Regions from separate parts of the Homo sapiens genome. Here regions 1 and 3 are each linked to region 2. The links are contacts of gene promoters, found by promoter capture Hi-C in human tissues and cell types (Jung and others, 2019). All regions are on one chromosome and are shown on one strand. The core of a region is centred on a gene start or on the middle of the fragment in contact, and the rest is flanking DNA. Distances in the headings are between cores, read along the strand shown.

Region 1 (3,035 bases), core at 505-3,004, 200 kb after region 2:
CTTGTCTCATAACTTCCCATTTCCTCATCCCATTTGCCAGAGGCAACAATAGTCAATTCTTCGAGCTGTTTCTTCTTCTGGCTCCTCCTCCCCCATATTTCTGAAAAAAATGAAGGGTATACAGTTATTTTTTTCTTCTTTTCTTTTCTTTTTTTTTTTTTTTTAAGACAGAGTCTCACTCTGTTGCCCCCAGGCTGGGGTGCTGTGGTGTGATCATATCTCACTGCAACCTCCGCCTCCCAGGCTCAAGCGATTCTCTCACCTCAGCTTCCTGAGTAGCTGGACTACAGGCATGTGCCACTGCGCCTGGCTAATATTTGTATTTTTTGTAGAGACAGGGTTTTGCCCTGTTGCCCAGGCTGGTCTCGAACTCCTGGGCTCTAGCGATCTGCCTACCTTGGCCTCCCAAAGTGTTTGGATTACACGTGTGAGCCTTCATGCCTGGCCCTACAGTTACTTCTTGATGTGTCTGTTTTAGATGGTAGCTTTTAACTTCCTATTATGAAAGACTAGGATTTAGCTCTCACTGCTTCCCCCCGCAATACACACACACACACACCTGACCTCTCCCTATACCCTTAATATTGTTGTCTCACAATTTAAATCAATATTATGTGCTTACATTATTCTGACTTTGAATATCTAAATACGATTCACCTGAGTCATGTAACGTGCTATGATTATATTTTCTTTGTTTGCTTAGTTTTCTAAGTACCTCTTACCAATTCTTTTGCAAATTTCAGACAAAGCTGTAAAATACTTTTCAATGTGTTCAAATATAGTGTAGGTAACTAATCAAATCAATTTTCTTGGTGAAAAAGTTTCCTCGGAGGCTTCCAGCCTGCCCTAGCAGGGCCTGGCTGTCTTGGCTGAGTGCATGTCTCTCATCTGGGCATTCACCATCAGCCTACAATTCCCTTTGCCGCTCTCCTGTTGGGTGGATCCTATGTCTTGTCTCTCATTAGTTTATCCGGCGAATGAGATAGAGGTATTTAAAAATTTGCATGCCTGAAAATGCCTTTATATTCTACCTGCACCCTTTATTGAGAATTTGGCTCAGTGTAGAATTCAGAGTTGGAAAGAATTTTCCATCACTGTTTTGAAGTTAGTGCTCCATTGTTTTCAAGAATGCAGAGTTGTTTTGAGAAGTCTAAAATCATTTTTATTCTTGATCCTTTGTGTGAAACCTGTGAAAGCTTCTCTCTGAAAGCTTCCAGGATCTTCTCCTCCTTCCCAGTGATCTGAAGTTTTACAATAATGTTCCTTATTGTGGGATTTTGCCCACCTATTTTTAGTACTTTTCAATATGAACATTCAAGTCCCTTTGTTCTGAGAAATTTTCTTACATTCTTTTCTTTGATAAATTTCTTTTTCTTTCTTTTTTTTGAGACAGAGTCTTGTTCTGTCGCCCAGGCTGGAGTCCAGTGGTGCAATCTTGGTTCACTACAACCTCCACCTCCCAGGTTCAAGTGACTTTCCTGCCTCAGCCTCCCCAGTAGCTGAGACTACAGGCACATGCCACCATGCCTGGCTAATTTTTTTTTTTGTATTTTTAGTAGAAAAGGGATTTTGCTATGTTGGCCAGGCTGGTCTCAACCTCCTGGCCTATGTGACCCACCTGTCTCGTCCTCTCAAAGTGCTGGGATTACAGGCATGAGCCACCGCACCCGTCTTCTTTGATAAATTTCTTCACTCCATTTTCTCTGTTCTTTCCCTCCGGAACTCCTGTTAGCTGGCTGTGGTAACTCCTGGATTGACCCCCTAATTTTTTTTTTTTTCTTTTCTCTCCCTTGTATTTTTATTCTTTTTCTTTTCTCTCCTTTGTATTTTTGTTCTACTTTCTAGGAGAGTTTTCATTTTTTTCTTCTAATCTTTGCACAGGATAAAGTTTTCGTTTTCATGTTTTAATTTTTCAGGCATTTTACTTTGGCCTTTGGTTTTAGGAACCTGCTCTTATTTCATGGATGCTTTTCTTGTCCCCCTGAGGAAATTAATTACGAGATTTTAACTCCTCTTCTGTTCTCTAGATTATCTTTGTTTCCTCCAGGTTTCTTTTTCCCCGTTGGTTTGATCTGGTATATTCATTCCGTATTAGAGGCTTTCCAGAAATGTCTAGTGATTCTTGACCGACTTTTCATATTTAACAGTAAAATACTAAAAAGCCAATTGGATATTCTATTGATTTGTGGGCTTCATGTTTGGGTGACGAGGCAGTGACATAGCCATTTCATCTGGAGATCCTCGAATGCTAATATCGTTAGGTCTTTTTGCTTGGGCAGGTCAATTTAGCCGGAGAGGAGTCCTTCAACCACCTGCCTGTAGGCTTGGCTGCTAGCATCCTGGGTTGCAGTGTTGTTTCAACATAGCTTTTTGGAACTTTCAATGGCTGTTATTTTAACATAGCTTTTGGAATTTTCAATGGCTTTAAATCTGCCAGTAGGGAGCTGAAGGAGTTGGGGGAAGAGGGATGAGGGTTAGAGATCTCTTTTTCAGGGTATAGACTTTCACCTGATGGTGACACCCTCTCCTCCTCTGCTATTCCTGGTGCCCTTGAGCCTGGTACCTCTCTGGTCCAGACTTCTCTGCTATAGCCAGAATAGGAGAAGGGTAGTCACATGACTATGTGGAGTTAAGGAGGAGCTCTGGGGTTTATCTCTTTCATATGTAGACTCTCCATAATCTTCCTGTTCTTAACTCCGTCCTCATTTCTGCCTCTAGAATAACTTGATACCTCCAATTCCTGAGTCTTTCTGGGACTCTGGGGCTCACAGGAGTTTACCAGCTGTTGGCACCCCCTCTGCAGACTGCTAGGATCTAGCTTTCTTCTACGCCAGATACTGCTCTCCTGCTAACATGTCACTTCCAGAATGTTTGACATCTTTTATCTATTGTCTTTTCTCCTATTTTCTTTGTCCTTAAGGATTTATACTTTAAAAAATCAATTGATTCTCATATTCGTGAGGTTTTGAAAGGAACAGAGATAAACATACATGTACTATCTGCATATTTAATTAGGATTAAGCTTGTTCCCTTTA
Region 2 (2,700 bases), core at 3-2,502:
CTGAATACAAAAAATTAGCCGAGTGTGGTGGTGCGCGCCTGTAATCCTAGCTACTTGGGTGGCTGAGGCAGGAGAATCACTTGAACCTGGGAGGCAGAGGTGCAGTGAGCCGAGATTACGCCATTGCACTCCAGCCTGGGCAACAAGACAGAACTCCGTCTTGAAAAAAAAAATCTGTAATATTTACTGAGTGATTTCCATGTTCCAGGCAGTATTCTCATTGTTTTACCTGTACTTGCATTTACCTTATGTAATTGTCTCAAAAACCATGACGCCAGGCACTTAGAGATTAACTTGCTCAAGGTCAAAAGTAAATGATCGTCAGGATTGAAATCCGAGCATTTTTTTCTAGAGCCCATGCTAGTGACCACTATACCTGTGTTGCCTTTCTGGCCTCTGATCTCCAGTTTCCAACAAAGACACATCTGCCTAGCTTCTATGGGAAAGGAAATCGGAGGGTCCTAGGACAAGGACCAATAGGTAAGTTTCCCTTCGCCTCCTCCCTATCCTCTTACAGGAAAACAGGTTTAGGGGTGGATCTGAGAGTTTTCACAGAGTGAAGAGGAAGAGGAGCTCCCAAATGGCAGGCGCCTCTGGAGGCTTCCAGAGAAAAAAGGAGAGAGCGTGGGAAAAGGGCAGGCTGGGAGGTGGGAGCGGCGAGGAACGGGGAGCTGACCACAAGCCCAGGATTCCAGACCAGGCTTATGTCTCTTAGACTCAGCGTAACCTTGGATAAGTCCTTGCTTCTTTCTGAGACTCAGTTTCCCCGTCTGTAAAATAAGGGTAAATATAAAACCGGCTCATCCGCCCCTGCCAAAAGAGAGGACAGGGAGAAGGCCCTGTCTGGGGTCTAGGCTGACACGCTGCAGCTAGGATTAGGTGAGCTTCCGAGCTCAGTCGTGAGACCCCATCCTCATGGCAAGGCCGCGCTAAGATCTCTGGACCTCTGCTTGCTGGGTGGGTGGTTGGGGGCAGAGCATGGGCCAAATGCCCGGCTCTGCAGGCTGCGCCCACTCTTCTCGCACCTCCTCAGCCCTCCCTAAAGGAGTCTCAATCCCGGGGGAGTGGCAGTTGCGGGCGACCAAGCAGTCACCGGCTGCGCTGCGGCGACCTCCCGGGAAGCTGCGGCCGGCGGGGTCCGAAGAGCATCACGTCATCCTTTCCCCCAGGAGCCCGCCCCCTCCCAGACGGCGCCTGCGCAGGCGCGGTAGGAGGAGGGTCACGGTGGGGGCTGTCCACGCGCTCTCCGCCCTTCTCCAGGCTCGCTCGGGCCGCGGCGCTCTCGGCTAGCTGCAGCGGCGGCGGCGCGGAGGGGAAGGCATCCAGGATGCGGTGCGGGGCGGCCCGGTGCCCCCCCGCCCCGTCACGGCAGCCGCGGCGGCCGAGGGGACCGGGCCAGGGCCGGGGGCGGCGGCCCGAGCCGCGGTAGCGGCGGCGGCGGGAGGGGCGGCCTGAGGGCGGACGGGCGGGCGCCCGGGTTGCGGGGGCTCGGTGCCGCTCCGCACTGCCCGGCCGGTCTCGGCCCCGGCGCCATGAGTGGCGGCGGCGGCGGAGGGGGCTCGGCGCCCAGTCGCTTCGCCGACTACTTTGTCATCTGCGGACTGGACACGGAGACCGGGCTGGAGCCGGACGAGCTGTCGGGTGAGTGCGCGCCGAGCCCGGGGCGCTTTCCCGCGCCCGCTGTCGTCGGGGACCCCAGAAGAAACCTTCCTTCAGCCCCGCTTTGTCCCGGGAGCCGGGCGAGTGTCGGCCGGGAGGACCAGGGCGGGCGCGGGCGAAGGGGGCTTTGGACTGGAGGGGGGAAACGGATGAGGGGCTCTGAGCCATGAGGGGTCCAAACCTACGGCCCGCTGCGCAGTGGCCACGTCTTCGGCGACCAGAAAGAGGGAGGGTTGTGTGTTCTCAGTTTGGTGTAGGTTGAGTGACTTCGTTTAAAATAAAGGAAAGCTTGTCCTCTGGCACCCATTAGGGAGGGAAGGCGTCCCACGTCCTAGTGAAAGTAAGTTCCACCCAGACTTAAAAAAAAGGAAAACAAAAACTTGGTGAGTTTATCTGGCCACTTCCCAAGAAGCTTGTGATACTAGTTCCTCAAAACCGTTATACCCCAGCCCTGGGCTGGGCCCCCTGAGTCAGATTGCAGCTCTGCGCGTCTGGATGGGATATGAAGTAATAAAGTGAACTTGGGCGGCACCAAGAAGAGTAGGAACTCCCTTAGCCTTGGAAAGGGCTTGTATCCCGGGGCCATGCCTTTTTTGAAAAGTAATTTATGTCCTTTATGAGGACAGAGGCGTTTGTGAATAAAAGGGTAGCAGCATTGTAGTTGGAGAGGCTTGGTGTGTTCTGATGCGTTTCAAGTCATATTTGAAAGGGAAAGTGATGAGGGGAGTCAAAGATGGGGCCCTGACCAGATTTGGCACTCACTGCAGAAGGCCGTGAAAATTATACAGTCCCCGTGAATTTTCCACTGCACTGTCATTGGAGTCTTTGAATTGTAACAGTTTTGAAAATAAGTTTTTGTCTGGAGTTTCCAGTTAGTGGGTTTCAAGTGGGTGGAGGTTTGTCGGGTTGTACTTTAAGGTTGTGTCATCCTGATGAGGGGGACTCCTTTTCACTTTTCTGTCACTGTAAAGTTTCTCTTTCGAAAGTGATTATCCTGTTGACTAATCTTACTCGGCTTCAACGATGACAAGACAGTTTTGT
Region 3 (3,036 bases), core at 332-2,831, 140 kb after region 2:
TAGACATATAGATCAATGGAATAGAATTGAGCACATAAATAAATCCTCACATTTATGGTCAAATAACTTTTGGCAAGGGTGCCAAGACAATTCAATGAGAGAAATAATAGTCTTTTCAACAAATGATGCCAGGACAACTGGATATCCACATGCAAAAGAATAAGGTTGGACCTTACTTCACATTACATACAAAAATTAACTCAAAATGGATTGATGATCTAAATGTAAGAGCTAAAGCTATATATAGGCATACATCTTTATGACCTTAGATTAGGCAATGGTTTCTTAGCTATTACATTCAAAGCACAAGCAACAAGCTGGGCACAGTGGCTCATACCTGTAATCCCAGTACTTTGGGAGGCCAAAGCAGGAGGATTGCTTGAGGTCAGGAGTTCAAGACCAGCCTGGTAAATATGGTGAGACCCCAATCTCTACAAAAAAATAACAAATTAGGCCAGGCCCAGTGGCTCACACCTGTAATCCCAGCATTTTGGGAGGCTGAGGTGGGTGGATCACTTGAGGCCAGGAGTTTGAGACCAGCCTTGCCAACATAGTGAAACCCTGTCTCTACGAAAAAAAAAAAAAAAAAAAAAAAGCAACAAACAAAATTGGACTTCTATAAATTTATGTTTATTTTATTTTTATTTATGTTTTATTTTTCCATAGGTTATTGGTGTACAGGTGGTGTTTGGTTACATGAGTAAGTTCTTTAGTGGTGATTTGTGAGATTTTGGTGCCCCCTCCTTCCCCACAAGTCTCCAAAGTCCATTGTATCATTCCGACGCCTTTGCATCCTCATAGCTTAATCCCAACATATCAGTGAGAACATATGATGTTTGGTTTTCCATTCCTGAGTTACTTCACTTAGAATAATAGTCTTCAGTCTCATCCAGGTCACTGCAAATGCCATTAATTCATTCCTTTATATGGCTGAGTAGTGTTCCATCATGTATACATACCACAGTTTCTTTATCCACTCATTGATTGATGGGCATTTGACTTGGTTCCACAATTTTGCCATTGTGAATTGTACTGCCATAAACGTGCATGTGCAAGTATCTTTTTCGTACAATGACTTCTTTTCTTCTGGGTAGAAACCTAGTAGTAAGTTTTTTAAGGAATCTCCACACTGTTTTCCATAGTGGTTGTACTAGTTTACATTCCCAGCAGCTGTGTAGAAGTGTTCCTTGATCACTGCATTCACGCCAACATCTACTGTTTTTGATTATGGCCATTCTTGGAGAAGTAAGGTGGTATCACATTGTGGTTTGGATTTGCATTTCCCTGATAATTAGTGATGTTGAGTGTTTTTTTCATATATTTGTTGGCTATTTGTATATCTTCTTTTAAGAATTGTCTATTCATGTCCTTAGCCCACTTTTTGATGGGATTGTTTATTTTTTTCTTGGTGATTTGTTTGAGTTCATTGTAGTTTGTGGATATTAGTGCTTTGTCAGATGAATAGATTGTGAAGATTTTCTCCTACTCTGTGGGTTGTTTACTCTGTTGACTGTTCCTTTTGCCATGCAAAAGCTCTTTAGTTTAAGTCTGAGCTATTTATCTTTGTTTTTATTGTATTTGCTTTTGGGTTCTTGGTCATGAAATCCTTGCCTCAGCCAATGTCTAGAAGGGTTTTTCCAATGTTATCTTCTAGAATTTTTATAGTTTCATGTCTTAGATTTAAGTCCTTAATCCATCTTGAGTTTATTTTTATATAAGGTGAGAGATGAGGATCCAGTTTCATACTTCTATATGTGGCTAGCCAATTATCCCAGCACCATTAGTTGAAAAGGGTGTCCCCCGCTTTTTGTTTTTGTTTGCTTTGTCTAAGATCAGTTGGCTCTACACACACAAAAAAAAGCATGAGCAACAAACAAAACTAGACTTCCATAAATTTTAAAACTTTATGTTTCAAGGAACACTGTTCAAGAAAGTGAAAATACAACCTATAGAATGAGACAAAATATGTGTAACTCATATATCTGACAAGGGACCAGTATCCAAAAAACATAAAGAACGCAGTAATAAGAGGACAACGCAATTTAAGAATGGGCAAAGAATCTGAAGAGACATTTCTTCAAAGAAAATGTACAAATGACCAATAAGCATGTGAAAAGATGCTTAACATTGTTAGCCACCAGGGAAATGTAAATCAAAGCCACGATGAGATACCACTTTATACCCACTAGAATGGCTATAAGCAGAAAAACAGATATAAGTGTTGGTAAGAATGTGGAGAAACAGGAATTCTCATACATTGCTAGTGGAAATGTAAACGAGTGCAGCCACTTTGGAAAATAGTCTGGCAGTTCCTCAAAAGGTTGAACATAAAAGTTAGTTTATAACTCAGCAGTTCTAGGAATCAGCCCACAGGAAATGAAAACACATGTTTACACAAATGCTTGTACATGAAAGTTCATAGCAGCATTATTCATAATAGTCAAAAGGTAGGAACAACACAAATGTCTATCAACTGATGAATGGATTAACAAAATGAGATGTTATTCGGCCAGATAAAGAATTAAAGTACCAATACATTCTGCAACGTGGATTACCCTTGAAAAGACCATATATTGTATGATTCCACTTATGCAAAATATTCAGAAGAGGCAAATCTGTAGAGGCAGAAAGAGAATAGGGTTGTGTTGGGCTGGGGAACAAATGAAGAGTAACTACAGTAAATATGGGATTTCTTTTTGGGCTGATAAAAATGTTCCAAAGACAGCTATGGTGATGGTTTGCACAACTCTGTAAATATAATAAAAACCATTGAATTGTATACTTTAAATTGGTTAATTCTATGGTATGTGAATTATTATTATCATTATTATTATTTTGAGACAGAGTCTCACCCTATCACCCAGGCTGGAGTGAAGTGGCACGATCTCAGCTCACTGCAACCTCCACCTCCCAAGTTCAAGCGATTCTCATGCCTCAGCCTCCCCAGTAGCTGGGATTACAGGCATGCGCCACCATGCCCAGCTAATTTTCATATTTTTAGTAGAGACAGGGTTTCACCATGTTGGCCAGGCTAGT

What was found. The method cuts DNA at HindIII sites, captures the fragments that hold promoters and counts their contacts. A contact is called where the count stands out against the background at its distance.
Region 1: a contact is called between a fragment that was not itself captured here and the fragment with the promoter of DENND5A in region 2, in 1 of the 25 tissues and cell types used here (hippocampus).
Region 3: a contact is called between a fragment that was not itself captured here and the fragment with the promoter of DENND5A in region 2, in 2 of the 25 tissues and cell types used here (IMR-90 fibroblasts and hippocampus).

What each region holds. Positions count from the first base shown.
Region 1 is chr11:9,061,597-9,064,631 of GRCh38, reverse strand. The region is part of intron 7 of SCUBE2 (signal peptide, CUB domain and EGF like domain containing 2); the gene reads left to right. It overlaps NRIP3-DT (NRIP3 divergent transcript), which reads right to left. Exons shown (of 3, transcript NR_183663.1): 3 at 1-100. Among named protein-coding and RNA genes, the nearest start is that of MIR5691, 27 kb to the left of the region's middle. The HindIII fragment of the contact is 3,919 bases long and covers 1-3,035 here.
Region 2 is chr11:9,263,902-9,266,601 of GRCh38, reverse strand. It overlaps DENND5A (DENN domain containing 5A), which reads left to right and starts at 1,252. Exons shown (of 23, transcript NM_015213.4): 1 at 1,252-1,641. The coding sequence starts at 1,533. RefSeq lists enhancers at 951-1,020, 2,101-2,220, 2,381-2,700 and silencers at 1,301-1,400, 1,451-1,810. The HindIII fragment of the contact is 15,544 bases long and covers 1-2,700 here.
Region 3 is chr11:9,126,043-9,129,078 of GRCh38, reverse strand. No RefSeq gene overlaps it. Among named protein-coding and RNA genes, the nearest start is that of SCUBE2, 36 kb to the right of the region's middle. The HindIII fragment of the contact is 6,465 bases long and covers 1-3,036 here.